Linked DNA regions of Homo sapiens: region 2 is linked to region 1. The links are contacts of gene promoters, found by promoter capture Hi-C in blood cells and fetal thymus (Javierre and others, 2016). All regions are on one chromosome and are shown on one strand. The core of a region is centred on a gene start or on the middle of the fragment in contact, and the rest is flanking DNA. Distances in the headings are between cores, read along the strand shown. Region 1 holds the start of TNKS (tankyrase). Region 2 overlaps ERI1 (exoribonuclease 1).

Region 1 (4,834 bases), core at 1,047-3,546:
CATTTGCTAAAAATGAAACAGAATAAAATATAAAATATCAGAGGACAACACATGTATTAAGGGAAAGTATTGTTTCCAGAAACTTTTGATTCAGTTGCGTATGTGACAATGTAAAATGTATTTCTAAGTATGGGCTACAATAAAAAACATGTGAAAGCTACTCTCTTGCATATAAGCCCCTCCGCATTACTACTTCTCCCAAAAATTGGGAACTCTACACTTCAATTACTCACAAAAATGAAAAGTGACCTTAATCCAGGGTTCTGACAGTTTAAGTTTGATTTCACAAGCTCTAAAATCAAACTGCCTGAATTCAAACTCAATTTCCACTATTTCCTGACTGAATTTGGACTTATTTAAGCGATCGATATATGCTTCACTTTTGTCATCTGTAAAATGGTTAATCATATCTCCCAAGTGTGGTAAAAATAAATACTACAGTGGGTCAACACATGTTTTACTGTTAACAGAACAAACTGAAGAAGTGATATATATATATATTAGAAATATAGGAGAAACTTAACAGAAGTTATCTCTGGTGTGTTATCTCTGATGTTTCTGTGTGATGCCTTTCATTTTGTATTTTTCTGTCCTATTTGAATTGTATAACGTACAATATATGTATTTCCAATATAATGTTTCTAATGTATAAAACATTATTACCTACATTTTTAAAATATCAACAATAGGTATCCAGGCAGTGAGATTATGGTCCTTTGTTTTTATTTTACAGTTCTCTTTATTTTATAAACATATTATTAGGTGTCTTTGAGAGAAAATCATCAACTACTTGCAAAAAAAAAAAAAAAGACAAGTGTGGGGTCCAGAGCTTAAGAAATTCACACTTTTTGAGGGAGAACTTTGTGCCAGATACTTCTCACCAAATGCTCGCACAACATCATTTTATGATTTTTGCCCATGAGAAAACTGAGGCAACTGACACGAGGTAAATGGTCTGCTAGACAACAAATAATAGTGGCCACAACATCAAAGCCTATATTTCTTCCATCATCATATAATGCATCCAAATATTCTTCTCCAGTTGTTTCACATTGGCATATTTTGGTCTCCCCGTCTAGACTGCAAACTTCTTTAGAAGAAGGGAAACTTTCAAACACTTCATTTATGTCTTTCATTGGGTTATTAAGGCTACAATAGATCCTCAAACATGTGTTGGGTTGTATTAAACCTCTTTTGGTCTGGACTGTCCTCAAAGGACATACCCTTGTAAAAACAAAATAAACTAGCACACAAACGACAAAACTACTCTAAAGCTGTCCAAATCTAACTGTATTCCTGCACACCAAAAACTAAAGTGTAAATATATCCATATGCAGAGACTACCAACTACAGTGAGTTTTGTAATGAGTACTGTGCAACCACTGAAGAATTCCTTGGATTCACTTATCCCCCCCAACCACGCCCCCATCACCCAGGCACCACCAAAAGAAAGGAACCTCCAGTCTTCTGGTGAGGTGATGAAGAACCATAACCACGCCCCCACTTTGTCCCATCACAATAACCTGTTTTCTTGTCCTAACCGGACCCTGCACCCAAACCCATAACCCTTAATAAACAATTCAAAAGTCTCTGACCTGCAGCGAAGTGCAGGGGAGAAGACTTCCGGCCGGCCATGTCCTTTGCATTTACGTTTGCCGCGTCCACCAGCCTCTTTACCCGGGACACGTCCCCATTGCGACAGGCCTCCAGCAGTTCCCGTAGGGCCCCGCTCACTGCTGGGACCCCTGTCCCAGGTCCTGCTGCCCCAGGCCCCAGTGGTGCTGTGCTGCTAACTCCGGCCGCCTCGGGGCTCTCCGCCAAGCTCGATCCAGGGGAGGATGGAGAGGAAGATGAGGAAGAAGTCGGGGAAGAAGAGGACGACGGTGAATTGTTACTGCCACTGCCGGCTGGGTTGGGAGCGACCCCAGCGGCAGATGAAGTAGAAACCGCTGGGACCACGGGAGCGGCGGCGACGGTACAGATTGTGCTGGTGGTACTGCAACAGCTGGTACCGTCAACCGGGTCCGGGGATCGGGGCCTGTCGGGCGGATCCCGACTGCCATCCCCCTCCGGCAGCGCTAGGCCGTGCCGCGGGGAGGCGAAGGGGGCCAGGCCGCTGGCCGTGGGAGAGGCTGGGGTGGTCCCCGGGGCCAGGCCAGGGCTGAGTGGGGGAGGAGGTGGCGGCGGCGGCGCTGAAGCCCCTGGGGCGGGCTGGAGCTGTTGTTGATGATGGTGGTGATGATGCTGAGAGCGACGCGACGCCGCCATCTTCGGACTCCCCTAGCACTGTCACTGCGGCAACGGCCCCCACCGCCCGCCCTCACTTCCGACTGTCGGACCAATCAGCATCCAGCGCACAGGAAATGATGCTAGGCGGGGTAGCAGGGGCCAAAGAGAAGGAGGGAAGTATTGGGAGCTCAGAGAACAGCCAAGGGAACGGGGCGGGGCTTTGTCACTGAGAGGCGGGCTTTGTGACGTGGTGGCGGGCCGGCTGGAGAGATTTGAATGCTGGAACCAGCTTCTGCCTAGATGGGAAACATTTCCTGCATTTCTCACTTTCAGTCGGCTTTCTTTGCCCTGCTCCGCTCTGTTTCCCTTAGTCTCCCTTTGCTTGCTCCAGAGCCAGCTGTTGAGATGCAGATCAGAGCAAGCAGGGAATGTGTCCGTTATCATCTATTAAGCGTCCTTGTCTGAAAAATGGAACTTATAGTACCAACCTCACAGAATTATTAGCGGGATTAAAAGAGCTAACAGACAAAGCGCTCTGCCAGTAAAACACAAGTATAATTAGCCCGTTGGTAATTTTTTAAATTATAGTATTTCTTTTCCAGGTGTCCCCTTGAGCTCTTGTCCCTTCCCTATAATTTTTCTCACCCTATGTGCTTTAATTCCTCGTTTTTAAATGCTGGTTCAGATTGCTAGGATTGGCGTTCCAGCTCTGCCATTTGTTGTTTATATATGTACTTGCTATTTCATCACTCTATGCCTGTTTTTCTCTGTAAAATTGAAATAACAATAGTGCAATAAGTGTGAATTATTAAAATTATGATTTTTTTTTCCTATTCTGCTCTCTCTGAAATTTTATTTTTCACCCTAAGTGTAACTAATTATGAATATATTCCTTTCTTTTGAATTCTGGCTTAGCTTAGCCTCTCCCACACCCGAAACAGATAAAAACCTGATTGCTAGGCTGGTCACGGTGGCTCATGCCTGTAATCCTAGCACTTTGGGAGGCCGAGGCCGGCGGGCCACTTGAGCCCGGGAGTTCAAGATCAGCCTGGCCATCACGGCGAAGCTCCATCTCTACAAAAAATACACAGATTAGCTGGGCAAAGTGGCACATGCGTGTAGTCCCAGCTACTCAGGAGTCTGTTGGGAGGATCACTTGAGCCCGGGAGGCAGAGGTTGCTGTGAGCCGAGGTCACACCACTGCACTCCAGCCTGGGTGACAGAGGGCGGAGACCCTGTCACAAAAACAACAAGAAAACATAACAAAAACCTGATTGCTGTCCATTACTCACCATCAGGTGCTATTTTTCAGCAACTGCTTTTTCTGTCTTTCCCCCAACCTATGTATACTTTTGTTTTTCTACTATCAAAAGATGTATCCATGAATGAGATAATCCCATTGAGGACTCCATTTCATACCTACTGTTCAATAGTAAAGCAGGCATTGTAGAAGTATACAGAAACAGCATTATTCCAATAGAGTGGACACAGATGGAAATTCTGTAAGAGAAACAAGATTTAGATGAGTCAAGCAGAATATTAAACTAGGTGATAAATTGTTTCATGTGTTCATTGTTAAATATGATTTATGTGATGTTAATATTCCCATTTAAGTAAATAGATGAGTTTATTTGGGGTTAGTAAGTAAATACAATAAGGTCAGGAACATAATTAGTATTACGAGTGGCATTTATTTTCATCTAATCTGGGGTTACAGATTATAATTCTTAACATTATCCAGCTGTGTGATGAAATGTGCCATTGTTCGCAGTAGACACCGGACAAAAAGTGTAGCTGGATAGGAAAACTCACATCAGTGCAACTAAAATCAGTCCACAACATTCTTCTTCATGCTTCTGTTTTTTAATCTTAACTTCTTGATGTACAGCAGAGAACCATTGAGAAGTGGGAGTGATCCAACATGATATGTTAGATATCCATAACACACCATGTGTCCCCTAAATAATGGCCTCCTGGAATGGGAGGCATAAGAAATATCTCATCTGGTCTCCCAGTGGTCAGTTACTCATAGAAAGTAGTGATGTTCAGACTTATTCAAAATGCATCTGTTGTGTCTATCAGTACAAAAAATAATAATAACAATAAAATAAGGAAGTCTCTGCTGGACAGAGATTTTTAAAAACTAAATTGCCGGCCAGGCCCAGTAGCTCACACCTGTAATCCCAGCACTTTGGGAGGCCAAGGTGGGCAGATCACGAGGTCAGGAGTTCCAGACCAGCCTGGCCAACATGAGGAAACCCCATCTCTACTAAAAATACAAAAATTAGTTGGGCGTGGTGGTGCGCGCCTGTAATCCCAGCTACTGCGGAGGCTGAGGCAGGAGGATGGCTTGAACCCAGGAGGCAGAGGTTGCAGTGAGCCGAAATCGTGCCACTGCACTCCAGCCTGGGTGGCAGAGCAACATTGTCTCAGCAAAACAAACAAACAAACAAAAAACAAAAAACTAAATTGCCTGAAACTGGACTGGAAAACCATGTCTGGAAATGCATTCAATCAACTGGAAATTGCTTTCTTCCCCTCGAGCAGAAAGTAGGAAAAGTACTTAACATTAAGTATTTATGAAGTTTGGGTTTATACCGACTAA
Region 2 (4,834 bases), core at 692-3,191, 520 kb after region 1:
ACTCATTCATCACGGCAGTCAGGACTTACGCTACCTTTTGCAATTTCAGGAACAGGTACTAACCTTACAAGATACATTTTACCATCACTAATTATTTTTAACTAAGCACCCATTGTGTCTTAGGTTCTTGAGATACAAGTAAGAACCTGTGCCTGAATAATTTACACTCCTGTTGGGGAAACAGAAAAAAAAAAAACCCAACAATACAGTACATATGAATCTCTGCAGCACAAATGAAGGGCCCAATGAATGTAACAAAAGTGCAATGAACAAATAGAGGGAGTTGTTGCCAAAGGTCCGGGCTGTCTGGGAAGAAGGCTGAAATCACAGCAGGTCTTTAACAAAACAGAATCAAGAGAATAAGACTGATGGGCTAACTTCCTGGGGACAGAAGTAGGATGGTGCACATGCGACTCAACGCGAGTGTGATGGTGAGGGGAGTAACTATTACCCTAGAGCAGATGGTTACTGTAAAAGTTGGCAGACAGAAATCAGACTGTGAAGGTTCTTATATGCCAACAGAGAGCTGAGTTTTATCCCATCAGAAATGTGAAGGTTTCTGAGATCAGTGTGCAAAGCAACATTTTAGGAAGGTTTTTTATGACAGTGGTATACAGGAAGAGACAGCAAGAGAGAAGTCTGTTAAATTTTAGCAATAGTCTGTGTAGCAATGATGATAACAGAGGCTGGGGTGAGGATAAAGTGACTGGACAATAAAGGACATTGTGCTAAAAGGGGGAGGGAGGGACTATGAGTTTCATGGTTTCAATCCTATGTGACTGTGATAATCATGGTCCCACTGACAAAAATAAATCCAAAGGGAAAACAGGTCTATGTTCAAAGGTGCAGAGTCGGCAAGCAAGAATGGACACTTCAAGGGGAAGGCTCAATCGCTGCCCTCCATCAATCTGCCATCACCAGTGATGGTGTGCCACACTACATTAGCAAACAGAAAATCACAACCTTGCTCCTCTTTTGTTCTTTTACTCAATAGAAAAAAAAAATGACTTGTATTCTAAACTTGCTCTTGATCATACTATATACAGGCATACCTCAGAGATACTGCAGGTTCAGTTCCAGACCACTGCAATAAAGGGAGTATCACAATGAAGCAACTCACACAAATGTTTTGGCTCCCCAGTGCATATAAAAGTTAAATTTAAACAATAGTCTATGAAGTGTGCAAAAGCATTATGTCTAAAAAATACATATATACCTTAAAGATTAAATTTCTAGAAAAAGGTAACAATCATGAGTGTTCAGCAAGCCATAATCTTTTTGCTGGTGTAGGATCTTGCCTCAAACGTTGAGGGCTACTGAGTGATCAGGGTGGTAGGTGATGAAGATTGGAGTGGCTGTGGCAGTTTCTCAAAATGAGACAACAATGAAGTTTGCTCCATCAACTGATATTTGTGCTTTCACAAAAGATTTCTCTTTATCATGCTGTTTGATAGCATTCTATCCACAGACCTTCTTTCAAAATTAGAGGCAATCCTCTCAAACCACGCCACTGGTTTATCAATTAAGCTTATGTAATATTCTAAATCCTTTGCTGTCATTTCAAGAATGTTTACAGCATCTTCACCAGGAATAGATTCCATCTCAAGAAATCACTTTCTTTGCTTATCTGTAAGAAGTAATTCCTCAAGTTTTATCATGAGGCTGCAGCAATTCAGTCACATCTTCACTTCTAGTTCTCTTGGTATTTCCACCACATCAGCAGTGACTTCTTCCACTGAAGTCTTGGGCCCCTAAAAGTCATCCATGAGGACTGAAATCAACTTCTTGCAAATTCCTGTTAAGGTTGATATCTTTACCTCCTCTCACGAATCACAAATGCTTGTAATGGCATTCAGAATAGAATGGTGAATCCTTTCCAGAAGGTTTTCAACTGACTTTGCCTAGATCCATCAGACGAATCACTACCTATGCTAACTACAGCCTTATGAAATGTATTTATTAAATAGTAAGACTTGAAAGCCAGAACTACTACTTGATCCATGGGCTGTGGAATGGATATTGTGTTTGTAGGCATTAAAACCAACATTAATCTCCTTATACAACTCCATCAGAACTCCTGGATGACCAGATGCATTGTCAATGAGCAGTCATATTTTGAACAGATTTTTTTTTTTCCTGAGCACTAAGTCTCAACAGCAGGCTTCAAATATTCAGTAAATGATGTAGTAAACAGATGTGCTGTCATTCAGGCTTTGCCGTTCCCTTTATAGAGCACAGGCAGAGTAGATTTAGCATAAGGGCCCTAGGATTTTCAGAATGGTTAATGAACACTGACTTCAACTTAAACCAGCTACATTAGCCCTTAACAACAATCAGCCTGTCCTTTGAAGCTTTGAAGCCAAGCACTGACTTCTCTCCAGCTATCAAAGTCCTAGATGTTATCTTCTTCGAATAGGCTATTTCATCTACATTGAAAACCTGTTGTATGGTGTGGCCACCTTCATTAGTTATCTTAGCTAGATCTTAGCTAGATAACTTAGCTAGATCTTAGCTAGATAACTTGCTATAATTTCTACATCAGCACTTGCTGCTTTACCTTGCACTGTTTTATGGAGACAGCTTCTTTCTTTAAATTTCATGGACCAATCTCTGCTGGCTTCAAATTTTTCTTCTGCAGCTTCCTTACCTCCCTCAACCCTCACAGAATATGAGACAGTTACAGTCTTGCTCTAGATTAGGCTTTGGCTTAAGGAAATGTTGCAGTTTGATTTTTTATCCACACCACTAAAACTTTCTCCATATCAGTAATAAGGCTGTTTTGCTTTCTTATCACTTGTGTGCTCACTGGAGCAGCACTTTTAATTTCCTTCAACAACTTTTCCTTTGGGTTTACAACTTTGCTAATTTGGATCAAAAGGCATAGCTTTCAGCCCGTCTTAGCTTTTGACATGCCTTCCTCTTTAAGATTAATCATTTCTAGTTTTTGATTTAAAGTGGAAGACATGTGACTCTTCCTTTCACCTGAACACTTAGAGGCCACTGTAGGCTTATTAATTGCCCTAATTTCAATATTGTGTCTCAGGGAATAGGTAGGTCTGGAGAGGGAGCGATGGGGAAAACACAGACATTTATCAATTAAGTTCGTTGTCTTATATGGGTGTGGTCTGTGGTGCCCCAAAACCACCATGATAGTAACATCAAAAGTCACTGATTACAAATCACCCTAAGAGAGATAATAATAATCAAAAAGTTTGAAATATAGGGAGAATTACCAAAATATGAGACATGAAGTGAAAGTATGCTGTTGGGAAAATGACATAAATAGACTTTCTCCACACAGGATTCACACAAACTTTCAGTATGTTAAAAAACAAAACAAAACAAAATAGTATCTGCGAAGCACATAAAGAGAAGTGCAATAAAATGAAGCATGCCTTGTGGCTCCACAATGATTGAGCAGTATTCATCCTAAAACAAATCTAATGAAATTTACCTTGAGAACATTCACTTGCAAGTAGAAAAGCAGATCTGGTTTAAAGCCTCGGGCATCCGCCCCTTACCCAAGTCTTGGTAAGGAATCCAGAAAAACAAGTACTTCCAACTCTTCATCAGTCAAACTTAAGCCCTTTAGCCTCTGTGTCATTATAAACTCAAGACACTAACATTTCTAATCTCAAGAACATGGAGGAAATTTTAAAGCAAAAATCGTTCTCCTTCTCCACTTATCCCCATCTCCGAAAAAACCTTACAGCTGGTCACATTAGAAGTTAACAGTATTTTATATTGTTTCATTCAAAGAATGAACATCAAATTACCTCCTGATTTGCAACATTTAGTACAATCGCATTGAAAATGTCTAGTTTAAACCATACAGGAAGATGTTTATTCTACCTAGGACAACCTACCTGTTCCTGGAATATCAGGTTAAGCCAAAGTCTACAACGGGAGGCAGCATAGCACAGAGATAAAGAGCAAGGCTCAAGCCATACTGCCAGAATCTACAGCTCCCACTACTTAAACTTTGGCAACTTAACCGCTCTGGACCTCAACTTTCCCATCTGTAAACTGCAGAGAATGCCTCTCTCCATCACCAGATTCTTACTAAACAATGGAGTAAAGTACTTAACAGTGCTCCATAAATGTCTGATGCAAGTATCATTGTACCTTAACATTCAGCTCTACGCTCTCATCACAGTCGCATTTCTTGTTTGTTGATGGAACTTATATATTGCATTACATAAGGGAGGTAAGGGTAGGCAAACTTTCTCCATAAAGGGCCAGACAGTAGTATTTTTTGGCCTTGCTGGCCAGATGGTGCCACTGATGCAGCTATTCAACTCTGCCATTGTAGCACAAAAGTGGTCAGAGATGACATGAAAACAAATGAGAATGGTAGTTCTTTCCAAAACTTTATTTAGAGAAACTAAAATTTCGTAATTTTCGTATTATACAAAATATTATTTTGAGCCATTAACAAAAGGGAATATAAAAACCATAGTTTGTAGGCCATACAAAAATAGGCAGCAGCCAGATTTGGCCCATGGGTGGTAGTTTGCTGACCCCTGCTCTAGATTAACAAATTTACGGGCTTTGGAAGCTTTGTGGGGCAAGGAGGCTTGATATACAGGTTGGTGGTGCAGAACAAAGAGGAAATTTCTAAGTATAATAGAAAAAAGATGTAATGCTGTCCTTCATGTATCAACGCTGGATTCAACTATGTGCAAAACATTTTATCATATGTCGCTGGAATCAAAGATGCAGAAGTCACAGTCTCTGGTCTCGAGGAGCATATACTTCTCCATGGTAGCTTAGAAATGGAAAGTCTTCCTTCAAAGTACAATACATCCTTCTCAGACTTTGACAATGCACCCGT

What was found. The method cuts DNA at HindIII sites, captures the fragments that hold promoters and counts their contacts. A CHiCAGO score of 5 or more calls a contact.
Region 2: a fragment that was not itself captured here is called in contact with the fragment with the promoter of TNKS in region 1 in 1 of 17 cell types (neutrophils); the score reaches 9.8 in neutrophils.

Annotation. Positions count from the first base shown.
Region 1 is chr8:9,553,374-9,558,207 of GRCh38, reverse strand. TNKS (tankyrase) reads right to left here and starts at 2,296. Exons shown (of 27, transcript NM_003747.3): 1 at 1,596-2,296. The coding sequence starts at 2,268. RefSeq lists enhancers at 1,292-1,951, 1,952-2,613 and a silencer at 2,034-2,193. The HindIII fragment of the contact is 11,121 bases long and covers 1-4,834 here.
Region 2 is chr8:9,032,862-9,037,695 of GRCh38, reverse strand. ERI1 (exoribonuclease 1) reads right to left here. Exons shown (of 7, transcript NM_153332.4): 7 at 4,358-4,834. Among named protein-coding and RNA genes, the nearest start is that of MIR4660, 13 kb to the left of the region's middle. The HindIII fragment of the contact is 824 bases long and covers 1,530-2,353 here.